Linked DNA regions of Homo sapiens: region 2 is linked to region 1. The links are contacts of gene promoters, found by promoter capture Hi-C in human tissues and cell types (Jung and others, 2019). All regions are on one chromosome and are shown on one strand. Each heading gives the region's core, a stretch centred on a gene start or on the middle of the fragment in contact. The rest is flanking DNA. Distances are from core to core; before and after follow the strand shown. Region 1 holds the start of LRRC27 (leucine rich repeat containing 27). Region 2 holds the start of ECHS1 (enoyl-CoA hydratase, short chain 1).

Evidence for each region. Contacts are between HindIII fragments. The study calls those that stand out against the background at their distance.
Region 2: the fragment with the promoter of ECHS1 here is called in contact with the fragment with the promoter of LRRC27 in region 1 in 1 of the 25 tissues and cell types used here (lymphoblastoid cells).

What each region holds. Positions count from the first base shown.
Region 1 is chr10:132,326,516-132,333,613 of GRCh38, forward strand. LRRC27 (leucine rich repeat containing 27) reads left to right here and starts at 5,678. Exons shown (of 11, transcript NM_030626.3): 1 at 5,678-5,741; 2 at 6,962-7,098. The coding sequence starts at 7,010. It also overlaps a transcript of STK32C not described here. RefSeq lists an enhancer at 4,961-5,495 and a silencer at 5,380-5,499. The HindIII fragment of the contact is 23,116 bases long and covers 1-7,098 here.
Region 2 is chr10:133,371,066-133,374,603 of GRCh38, forward strand. ECHS1 (enoyl-CoA hydratase, short chain 1) reads right to left here and starts at 2,289. Exons shown (of 8, transcript NM_004092.4): 1 at 2,181-2,289. The coding sequence starts at 2,268. MIR3944 (microRNA 3944) reads right to left here and starts at 598; the gene lies at 491-598. RefSeq lists a silencer at 2,052-2,561 and an enhancer at 2,943-3,032. The HindIII fragment of the contact is 22,751 bases long and covers 1-3,538 here.

The DNA of each region.
Region 1 (7,098 bases), core at 4,428-6,927:
GTTTCCCCATGTTGGCCAGCTAGTCTCGATCTCTTGACCTCAAGTGATCTGCCTGCCTTGGCGTCCCCAAGTGCTGGGATTACAGGCGTGAGCCACCTCGCCCAGCCAAGATCTCTATTTTAATGTTAATGCTGGTGAGTCTGTCTAACCCCAAAAGGAGAGGAGTATCATGAGGCACGCCCAGTTCTCCACTGCTGGTCACGGTCTGAACTAGGAAGCGCGCCCAGTCCTCCACTGCTGGTCACAGTCTGAACTAGGAGGTGCACTCAGTCCTCCACTGCTGGTCATGGTCTGAACTAGTTTCAGGTTTCTTTGGAATCCCCTTGACAGAGAAGAGGGGTCCATTCAGCTGGTTGGGGGACTCAGACTTTTGTTTTTGGTTTACAATGTAGAAGAATATTAATTACTGGAAAAACATCACACATAACTTATGGCAGCTTCACAATAAGGGATTACATAAAAAAACTAAAGCAGAGTAAAACTGTTTTATTTCCTGTACTGGAAAATATTACTTTCTCTGGGCAAGATGGTATTGCAAGTTCAAGCTTAGAGGCTGATACGGTTTGGCTGTGTCTCCACTCAAATCTCATCTTCAATTCTCACGTGCTGTGGGAGGGACCCGGTGGGAGGTAACTGAATCATGGGGGCAGGTCTTTCCCAGGCTGTTCTTGTGATAGTGAATATGTCTCATGAAATCTGATGATTTTAAAAAGGGGAGTTCCCCTGCACAAGCTTTCTCTCCTTTTGCCTGCTGCCCTCCACGTAAGATGTGACTTGCTCCTCCTTACCTTCCACCATGATTGTGAGGCCTCCCCGGCCATGTGGAACTTTAAGTCCATTAAACCTTTTTTTCTTCCCAGTCTTGGGTATGTCCTTATCAGCAGCATGAAAACAAACTAATACAGAGGCCCTCCCACAATTCTCCCCAACCATGGCTACAATAGGTAATTTTTATTTAAAACAAATTTTTTTTTTTTTGAGACAGGGTCTTGCTCTGTCACCCAGGCTGGAGTGCAGTGGCATGCTCTCGGCTCACTGCAACCTTTGCTTACCAGGTTCAAGCAATTCTCCTGCCTTAGCCACCCGAGTACCTGGAACTACAGGTATGCACCACCACGCCTGGATAATTTTTGTATTTTTAGTGGAGATGGGGGTTTCGCCATGTTGGTCAGGCTGGTCTCAAACTCCTGACCTCAGGTGATCCGCCCGCCTCAGCCTCCCAAAGCGCTGGGATTACAGGTGTGAGCCACCATGCTTGGCCTATAATAGGTAATTTTTAAAACAAAAATTTAAAAACCACCAACACTTCATAGACCAAAAATGAATCAGAAACACATAGCAGCTCACAGGACCCAGACTTTGGGCCTGTGGGGGCTCTGGGCCCAGAAAGAGGGAAAGGTGCTTGGGAGGGCTGTCCCTGAAGAGTGAGGGGGCAGAAAGTGCCTGAGAGTAGTGGAGAACAGCCAAGAGCATCGCTGAAAACCAGGGCTGGAATAAGTCTCTTGCCTCTGTAACTGCCCTATGGGTTCACCTTGCCTGCTGCCTAGACAGAGCCCATTTACCAAGACAGGGGAATTGCAATGGAGAAAGAGTAATTAACGCAGAGCGGGCTGTGCAGGAGACCGGAGTTCTACTATTATTACTCAGTCAGTCTCCCTGCGCATTCTGGGATCAGAGTTTTTAAAGATAATTGGGAGGGTGGGGCTTTGGGACATGAGGAGTGCTGATTGGTCAGGTTGGAGATGGACTCATAGGGGGTCGAAGTGAGGTTTCCTTGCTGTTTTCTGCTCCTGGGTGGGTGCCCGAACTGCCGGAGCGAGATTACAGGTCTGGGTGGTGTCGGCTGATCTGTGGAGTGCAGGGTTTGCAAAATATCTCAAGCTCTGATCTTGGGTTTTACAATAGTGATGTTATACCCAGGAGCAATTTGGGGAGGTTTAGACTCTTGGAGCCAGAGGCTGCAGGACCCCTAACCTGTAATGTCTAATATTGTACCTAATTTGTTAGTCCTGCAAAGGCAGATTGGTCCCTGGGCAAGAAGGGGGTATTTTCGGGAAAGGGCTATTACCCATTTTGTTTCAGAGTCAAACCATGAACTGAATTCCTTCCCAAGGTTAGTTTGGCCTATGCCCAGGAATGAACAAGGACAGCTTAAAAGTTAGAAGCAAGATGGAATCGGTTAGGTCTGATCTCTTTCACTGTCATAATTTCCTCAGTTATAATTTTGCAAAGGCGGTTTCACTTCCATGAAAGGAATGTGAAAAAACATACAACTTCTGCAGCGATATCTGGAGATGGAGACGAGGACAGCCTTCGGCCCAGCCTCTTGCTGGCTCCAGGACTGGATCTACAGTTCCCAACGGCAAGGCCAGGCAAGCACCCAAGCATGACCCCAAAAGGCTGGACGGAGGCTCCTGCCAGAGCATGACACACAGTGAATACTCAGGGAAACAGAACATAAGCCCCCTCTGCAGAAGCCTGCAAGCCTAGATTTCAAAACACAGGACTCCAAGAAGACAGATAACAGTATCAGCCATCAACTGGTAAATTCCGCCCAGGGGAGATGAAAACAATAAAGCACAGTTTAAAATAAATGTGTCTACCCCGGGCAGTGGCTCAGGACTGGCAGTGGCTCACGCCTATAATCCCAGCACTTTGGGAGGCTGAGGCAGGTGGATGGCTTGAGCTCAGGAGTTCGAGACCAGCCTGGGCAACATGGTAAAACCCGTCTCTACAAAAAATACAAAAATTAGCCCAGTGTGGTGGCACATGCCTGTAGTCTCAGCTACTTGAGGGGTTGAGGTGGGAGGATTGCTTGAATCTGGGAGGCAAAGGCTACAGTGAGCCGAGATCACACCGCTGAACTCCAGCCTGGGTGACAGACTGAGACCCTGTCTCAAAAAATAAATAAAATAAATAAATAGAGGTGTTTGGGATTCTCATGGTAGATAAAGAAAGAAAACAGCCGTGAACATTAAAAACAGATTATAAAACAAAAACTGGAAGAAATTAGACACAAAAAAGAAAATTAGAAATAGAGACCAATGCGGTTTTATTTAAAAACTCAACAGATTAAACAAACTAATTGGATGGAGACAGAACTAGTAAACTGGAAGATCGTAAACTGAGAACACAGAGACCAATACTGGGAAGCGCAGTTTGAGAGATGGAGAAGACACTGAATGGGTGCAAGCTACTCCCTTTTAGGAGATCCAGAACAAGAATTATGTCAGGGTGCAGAGGTGCCACGGGAGGACAGATGGCCGGGAAGGGCTGGGAACTGAAACTTAGCTATCTCAGGTGAGAAGACACGGCCAGCGCCAGGCAACACAGCCAAACCAACTTATACTCAGAAATACCACAGCGAAATTTCAGAACAAAGACATGAAAAGAGAAGATAGATTTCCTTCATGGAAGTAGCAATGCCACGGGCAGCAAACTTCTCGGCAGGGTAGCAGCAGTCGCTGCCCGGAGGAAGGTCCTAAAATCAAGACAGGAAATGACTCAACAAGGAACGCGGCACCAGCTCCACAGCCACTCAATAATCAGATCAACACGAACACTTCATTCGTTCCTACGTTGGGAGGCTCACCCAAGAATACTTGCCAAAAGGCTACCAATGGATACAATCTGGCTGGGCAAAAACTGAGCACAGTAAAGGGCAAAACATGCTCGTACATACAATTAACTACTGACTACAAAAATTAATGTAGCATGAAAAATGTGAAACAAAAACCTGAGGCAACAATAACAAGCAAGAGGGAATACGCTCAAATGGTTAGTAAATGTTTTATTTGTGAAAAGAGATACTGGAATGCTGAAACTTGTTAGAAATAGCATCGTGCTGAAATCTTCCATCCCCTTCGCCACTCACGGCAACACCCATGTCACTCCTCATTCTCTCCTTGCTCTGCCCGGGTGGCTGGCCTCCCCACGCTCCTGAGAAGGTACTGGTTGTGCTTTCAGCTTCCTGATTGGTAGATAGTTGGGTATGTACGAAAACTTTTTTTTTGAGACAGGGTCTCGCTGTCACCGAAGCTGACATTAAGTGGCACAATCATAACTCACTGCAGCCTCAAAATCCTAGGTTCAAGCGATCCTCTTGCCTCACCCTCCCACACAGCTGGAACTACAGGTGTGTGCCACCACACCCAGCATTTTTTTTTTTTTTTTTTTTTAATTTTTGTAGAGACTGGGTTGCCCAGGCTGGTCTCCAACTCCTGGCCTCAAGCGATCTTCCCACCCTGGCCTCCCAAAGTGCTAGGGTTACAGGCGTGAGCCATCGTGTCCGGCCTAAAAAACATTTCTTACTGTGATCTCTTCACAAAAATAAAACGTAAATCCCCTCAAAGTGGATAGTCGTTTCTCCACATAATTATGTCGTTTCCTTTAAAAAGTGGAATCAGGCCGGGCACGGTGGCTCATGCCTGTAATCCCAGCACTTTGGGAGGCCGAGGGGGGCGGATCATGAGGTCAGGAGATCGAGACCAGCCTGGCCAACATGATGAAACCCCGTCTCTACTAAAAATACAAAAATTAGCTGGACGTGGTGGCGCGCGCCTGTAGTCCCAGCTACTGGGGAGGCTGAGGCAGGAGAATTGCTTGAACCTGGGAGGCGGAGGTCGCAGTGGGCCGAGATCGCGCTACTGCACTCCAGCCTGGGAGACAAAGCAAGACTCCACCTCAAAAAAAAAAAAAAAAAAAAAAAAGTGAAATCATGGCAGACTCCAGCTAAACTGTCCGGGTTTCCAGAGTGTTTCTGGGTGGGACAGAGGGTGCTACTTTTCATTATCAGTTGGATCCTGGAATGAAGGTGCACGGGACTCCAGGGTTCCACAGGACCACGCGAGCACCTCCCCTCCCGCCCGGTGTCATTTCATCTTCTTCCAAATTCTCAAAACCCTTCCTCAGGACACTCACTGCGTTTCCTCGCCCCCCTCACTCCTCCGTCCAGAGGCAGCCTTACTTCTCCAAAGAGGACGCTCTGAGTCTGCGTTCCCCTGGCAGCAAGTCCTGAGGCAAGATTTGGGGACAAGCAGCTCCTGTGGGAAGTGGCTCCAGGAAGCCCCAGGAGAGACGCGGGGAGTGAGCCCAGCGGGAAGGACAGGCAGCGAGGACCGCTCCAAAGGTGGTGCCTCAGCAGCAATTCTTTTCTGCTCGGCTGTCCTCGAGCAGCCCCGCCCGCCCCGGGCCCTCCGGCTCCCCAGACGGCACTTAGCATCCCGCTCTCTTCCTTCCCCTCTGTGCCAGGCCGGTCGCCCCTCCAGACCCTCGCGGTCTCTACTTGCCCGTCGACCACCACCCCTTCAAGGCCGCGGGCGCGGAAAAACGGATGCTACCGTTGGCCGCGTGCGTGCGCAGGCGCACCACCCCCTGCCACCCCCGCGCAGGCGCACCACAACCCCCCCACCGCAAGCGCAACCCCCCGCCCCAGCGCAGGCGCACCACACCCCGCCCCCTCCCGGGCAGGCGCACCACACCCGACCCCCTGCCGCGCAGGGGCACCCACACCCCGCCCCCGCACGCAGGCACAAACCCCCACAACACGCACACCCCCGCGCGCAGGCGCACCACACCCCTCGCGCAGGCGCATCACAGACACACTCGCGCTCAGCGTGGCGCCTGCGGGATTCCGTACCGGCGTCTCCATGGCGACCGCGTTGGCTGGGTGGCCTCCATTGTCGGGCTGCTGCTCTCAGCGGCGGGGCTCGCCAGCGCTTCAGTGGGCGGGGACGCGGCAGGTGAGACGGGGCGGGTACGGCCAGCTCGCTGAGCCCTCGAGGCGGGCGGCGGCAGGAAGGTGGTGCCTCGGCCCGTCGTGCCCTGTCGCCTAGCTCCAGCCGCGATGCTGACCGCAAAGGCTGCCCTTCTGAGGCCTGGAATGTGAGGCCCAGAGCGTCGGACCCAACTCAGCCTCGCCCGGATGGGGAAATCGAGGCAGGGAGCGGGGGTGGGCGTGCGTGGGGATCCCTTGAAGGCAGCCTCGGAAACCCCACGGAGCCTGCGCTGCCTGGGCCCTGTGTGAGTCCAGGCTGTTGTTTCACTTCTGGTTTTAAGATACTTTCCCTGTTCTGAGGTTTGAAGCCTCCCCTCCTCTGTTTTAAGTTCCGTGATTCGGAGAAAACAAGTGAACTGACCGTGAAAAAGCCCGCGGGCTTCCATGGAATGCAGGCTGCCTGGGGTTGAACCCTGCTGGGTCCCGGTGTCGCCTCTACCCCCCAATTAACTGCGCCCCTGGAACAGTTCCCTAACTGATCTGCGCCTCATATGCCAATCATTGGGCTGTTGAGTGACTTGAATTAGGTGAACTGATGCATTCCAACGTTGATTCTTATTGCCGAATAAATTGTTTGGAAATTGCAAGTGGAAGTGTGCCTCGCTGAATGAGATTTTGGTGAACAATACTTCTGAGTAAAAGTGTTGCTGGACAACGAAAATTCGAGATTAATTTAACAGGTTTTTCCCCGGTGCTTAACTGGGTGTAAGCCAGACTTAGTTCTGGTCACTGGGTCAAAATGGTAAACAAAAGACAGGCTTCCTGGCCTCAAGAAACTAAAAACATAGTTCAAATGGCACAGAACCACACCAGAGGTAAGAAACAGTGCAAATTTCCACCCGCCCCTAGTCATTTCATGGAAGCGTTGCAGTTGATTTACAGGCTTTGAAATGTTCCGATCTGTTTACATCCCTAAAATGATCATTACTATTGTGCGCCTTTGCGTTTTCCAGGAGTTAAATCTTGGAACTCCATTGTACAAAGTGAGAGCAGAGAATTTTAATCTGAACCTCTTTGTATTCCTTTTTTTTTTTTTTACATGTTTAAAAGTCAAATTTTTGCTACTGCTTAGGAAAAATGATAGCTTTTAAAGCAAGTTACATTACAGTAGATCTGCCACACAGCTATTCTGTTTTGCCTCGGTATAATTAGTTGCTTCTACGTTTCCCTTTCCCGTGTCTCCAGGTGACTCCAGACCAAGGAGGATGAGCTGCTGTCCCTGGAAGAGAACGGATGGAGGGAAGCAGCTCCTACGAAGTTCCCTCTGTGGCTGCTGCTGATCTGGAGGAGGGTGCTGGTCAGACTAGGAGCTTGCCTGCCAC
Region 2 (3,538 bases), core at 1,039-3,538, 1.0 Mb after region 1:
AGGAGATCGAGACCATCCTGGCTAACACGGTGAAACGCCGTCTCTACCTAAAATACAAAAAATTAGTCGGGTGTTGTGGCGGGCGCCTGTAGTCCCAGCTACTGGGGAGGCTGAGGCAGGAGAGTGGCATGAACCCAGGAGGTGGAGCTTGCAGTGAGCTGAGATCATGCCACTGCACTCCAGCCTGGGTGACAGAGTGAGACTCCGTCTCAAAAAAAAAGAAAAGAAAAAAAGAAAAATCCCCAGCACAGAACACAGCCCACAGCCGCTTTCCTTCTCCTAATATGCCTTGGTCAGCTCTTCCCAGGACACCACTCTGGAGACAGCCCTGGACTCTGCTGAGACAAGGCACCAGGAAACACCTTCTTTCAACAAATGCCAACAGGTGAGGGGGTGTAAGGCAGCTCCTTGCACTTGGTACCGCCCCAGTGCCAAGACCTCTGGCCAACTGGACGCAGGGTGGGGGATGTGAAAATCCTGGGTGTTCCTGCAGCATTAAGATCAGGCACAGGTCCGGAGCAGCAGGCCAGCCCGAAAATGGGAGACGCAGGCGCTTCTCGGTTGGCCTGCTGCACAGGACCTGCGCCTGCTGGGTGGACAGCAAGGTGGGAAGGAGACAAAGGACAATGGCGTTCCAGGGGTGAGAAGGTGAACCTGAAAAGACAAAGGTAGCCTGTGTGTTGGATGCTTGCCTCCGTTAGTGGCAGAGCAGGGATCATAGTCCCTGTGCTATGGGTTTCTTTTTTTTGGAGACCGAGTCTCACTCTATTGCCCAGGCTGGAGTGCAGTGGCGCAATCTTGGCTCACTGCGACCTCTGCCTACAGGGTTCAGGTGATTCTCCTGCCTCAGCCTCCCGAGTAGCTGGGACTACGGTCACACACCACCACACCTGGCTAATTTTTGTATTTTTAGTAGACATGGGGTTTCACCATGTTGGCCAAGGTGGTCTTGATGACCTCAGGTGATCCACCTGCCTCAGCCTCCCAAAGTGCTGGGATTATAGGCATTAGCCACTGTGCCCCGCCGTATCCTGTGGGTTTCTAGGGGTAACTGGAAGATCACAGGTGAAGTGTCTGGCAGCAGTGCCCGCCATGCAAGATCCAGGAAAGGGCTGCTGTCAGGGTGGAGAAGCCGAAGGCCAAGGAGAGCATGGAGATGAAACCAACACAACTCAGTGGTCCACTGCTACACAGGGTGAGGGAGGAAGAGGAAGCAAGAGTTCTTCCCCAGCCCAAGGCATGGCCCAAGATTCCTCAGATACTAGAGCCGGTGATGGCCGCTCATGAGTGGGGCCCCGGGTGAGCCACGAGGGAGGAAGAGGGCAGCCCCCTGTGGCTGGGGAGGAGGTGTCAGCTTTTCCCTTAGGACCCTCTGAGGGGTGGCCCTGGTCAGGAGGCACCCAGGACAAAATGCACCTGCATCTCCTGTTCTCGGGCTGGCCGGCTGCACAGGAGCTACGCCTGCTCTTAGAGCCGAGGGAACACCCCGGATTTTTACAACCCCCACCCTGCGCCCAGTTGGCCAGAGGTCTTGGCACTGGGGCAGTACCAGCCAGCCGCCGGGCCTCCCGCAGGACGTGGCCTGGTGAGAGTGGCCTCCTGCAGAGCCAGGCAGGGGGTGGGGGTGCGGGCCAGGGTCAGGTGGGTGGTGTCGGTGCGGGGTGGCGGGTGGTGGGGGGGTGTTAAGCCTGGGTCAGGCTGTGGGTGCGGGTCAGGTGGGGGGTGCAGCACTAGGCGAGGGGGGTGTTGCAGGCCTGAGCCAGGCAGGGGCTGCGGGTCGGGGTCAGGTGGTAGGTGCGGGGTCAGGCAGGAGAGTGCGGAGTCAGGCCCTGGGGATGCGGGATCGGACGGAAGAGGGGTGCGGGGTCAGGCCGGGGGGTGCGGGGTCAGGTGGGGGGGTGCGGGGTCAGGCGGAGTGGGGTGCGGGTAGGGGTCAGGCCGGAGGGTGCGGGGTCAGGTGGGGGGGTGCGGGGTCAGGCGGGGGGGTGCGGGGTCAGGCGGAGTGGGGTGCGGGTAGGGGTCAGGTGAGGGTGCGGGGTCAGGCGGAAGAGGGGTGTGGGTTGGGGTCAGGTGGGGGATGCGGGGTCAGGTGGGAGGGGGGTGCGGTCTGGGATCTGGTCTGGGCGTGCAGGTCGGAGTCAGGAGGAGATTCGGGCCGCCAGCTCTCACCGCGCACTCACCCGAGGCGAAGGGACGCCAGGCGGGACAGCGAACCGGGGGCCTCAGCGGGCCGCGGACGCAGGACAGCAGGACACGCAGGGCGGCCATGGCTCTCTGGACTCCTCGCCCGGCCCCGCGGAGCCGCCCCCTCGCCTATAGCCTTTCAGGGCTCGCTCCGCCCACAGGCCAGCGCCGCGAGACCAGGCGGCCCTCGCGAGATCAGCCCGGGCAGAGTGAGCGGGTCGCTCTCCGCCAGGCCCCGCCCCCAGGCCCGAGCTGCCGCTCGCGGATCTAAGGCCGAGGGGCGTCCCCGGGACCCCGCCCTGGGCTGGGACCAGCGCCCTCCAGGCCCCGCCGCAGTCGCCCGCGCCCCCGCCCCCGCCCCAGCCCTCGGGGTCCCAGCTGGCCCCGGGGAGACCGCGCGGAGGCGGAGGCAACGGCGGCGCCTGCCGGGCTCTGCGCCGCCTCCCCCCGCCCGCCTGCCCGCCTGCCCGCCTGCCCGCCTGCCCGCCTGCCCGCCTGCCCGCCTGCCCGCCGGCGTCTGTAGCAGCGGACACAGCGCGCCCAGGCGCAGGGCCAGGCACGGTGGCAGCGGCGTGGGCACTGAACGCCACATTAGGAGGAGTTTTATTTTCATGCACACAAGACTTCAACAGATTTAAATAATAAAAATTTCATTCATTTAAGTTATTTTATTTATACCTTTTAAATATCTAGACAAGTATTGTGGAGCATCCATTTGTGTACTTGCCCGGATTCTGCAAACGCCAGGGTGGAGATAAAACCACCCTGGATAAAATGGAATGGAAAGCGAAACTGCTATTGTGACCGGTGGAGGGTGTCCAGGTTCTTGACGTCTTGAACAAAGAACTGGACAAAACGCACAAACAAAGCACGGAAAGAAGGAAGCAACAAAAGCGAGATTTATGGAAAACAAAAGTGTGGCCGGGCGCGGTGGCTCAGGCCTGTAATCCCAGCACTTTGGGAGGCCAAGGCGGGCAGATCACCTGACGTCAGGAGTTTGAGACCAGCCTGGGCAACATGGTGAAACCCCCCTCTCTACTAAAAACACAAAAATTAGCCGGGCGTGGTGGTGCACGCCTGTGGTCTTAGCTACTCGGGAGGCTGACGCAGGAGAATTGCTTGAATCCGGGAGGCGGAGGTTGCAGTGAGCCGAGATCGCACCACTGCCCTCCAGCCTGGGCGATAGAGCCAGACTTCGTCTCAAAAAAGAAACAAGAAAAGACAACGAAAATAACTCCACACTGTGGGAGCGGCTGAGCATAGCGGCTCAAGAGCCCCGTTACAGATTTTTTGGGGGGGTTAAATACCCTCTAGAGGTTTCCATTGGTTACTTGGTGTACGCCCTGTGTAAATG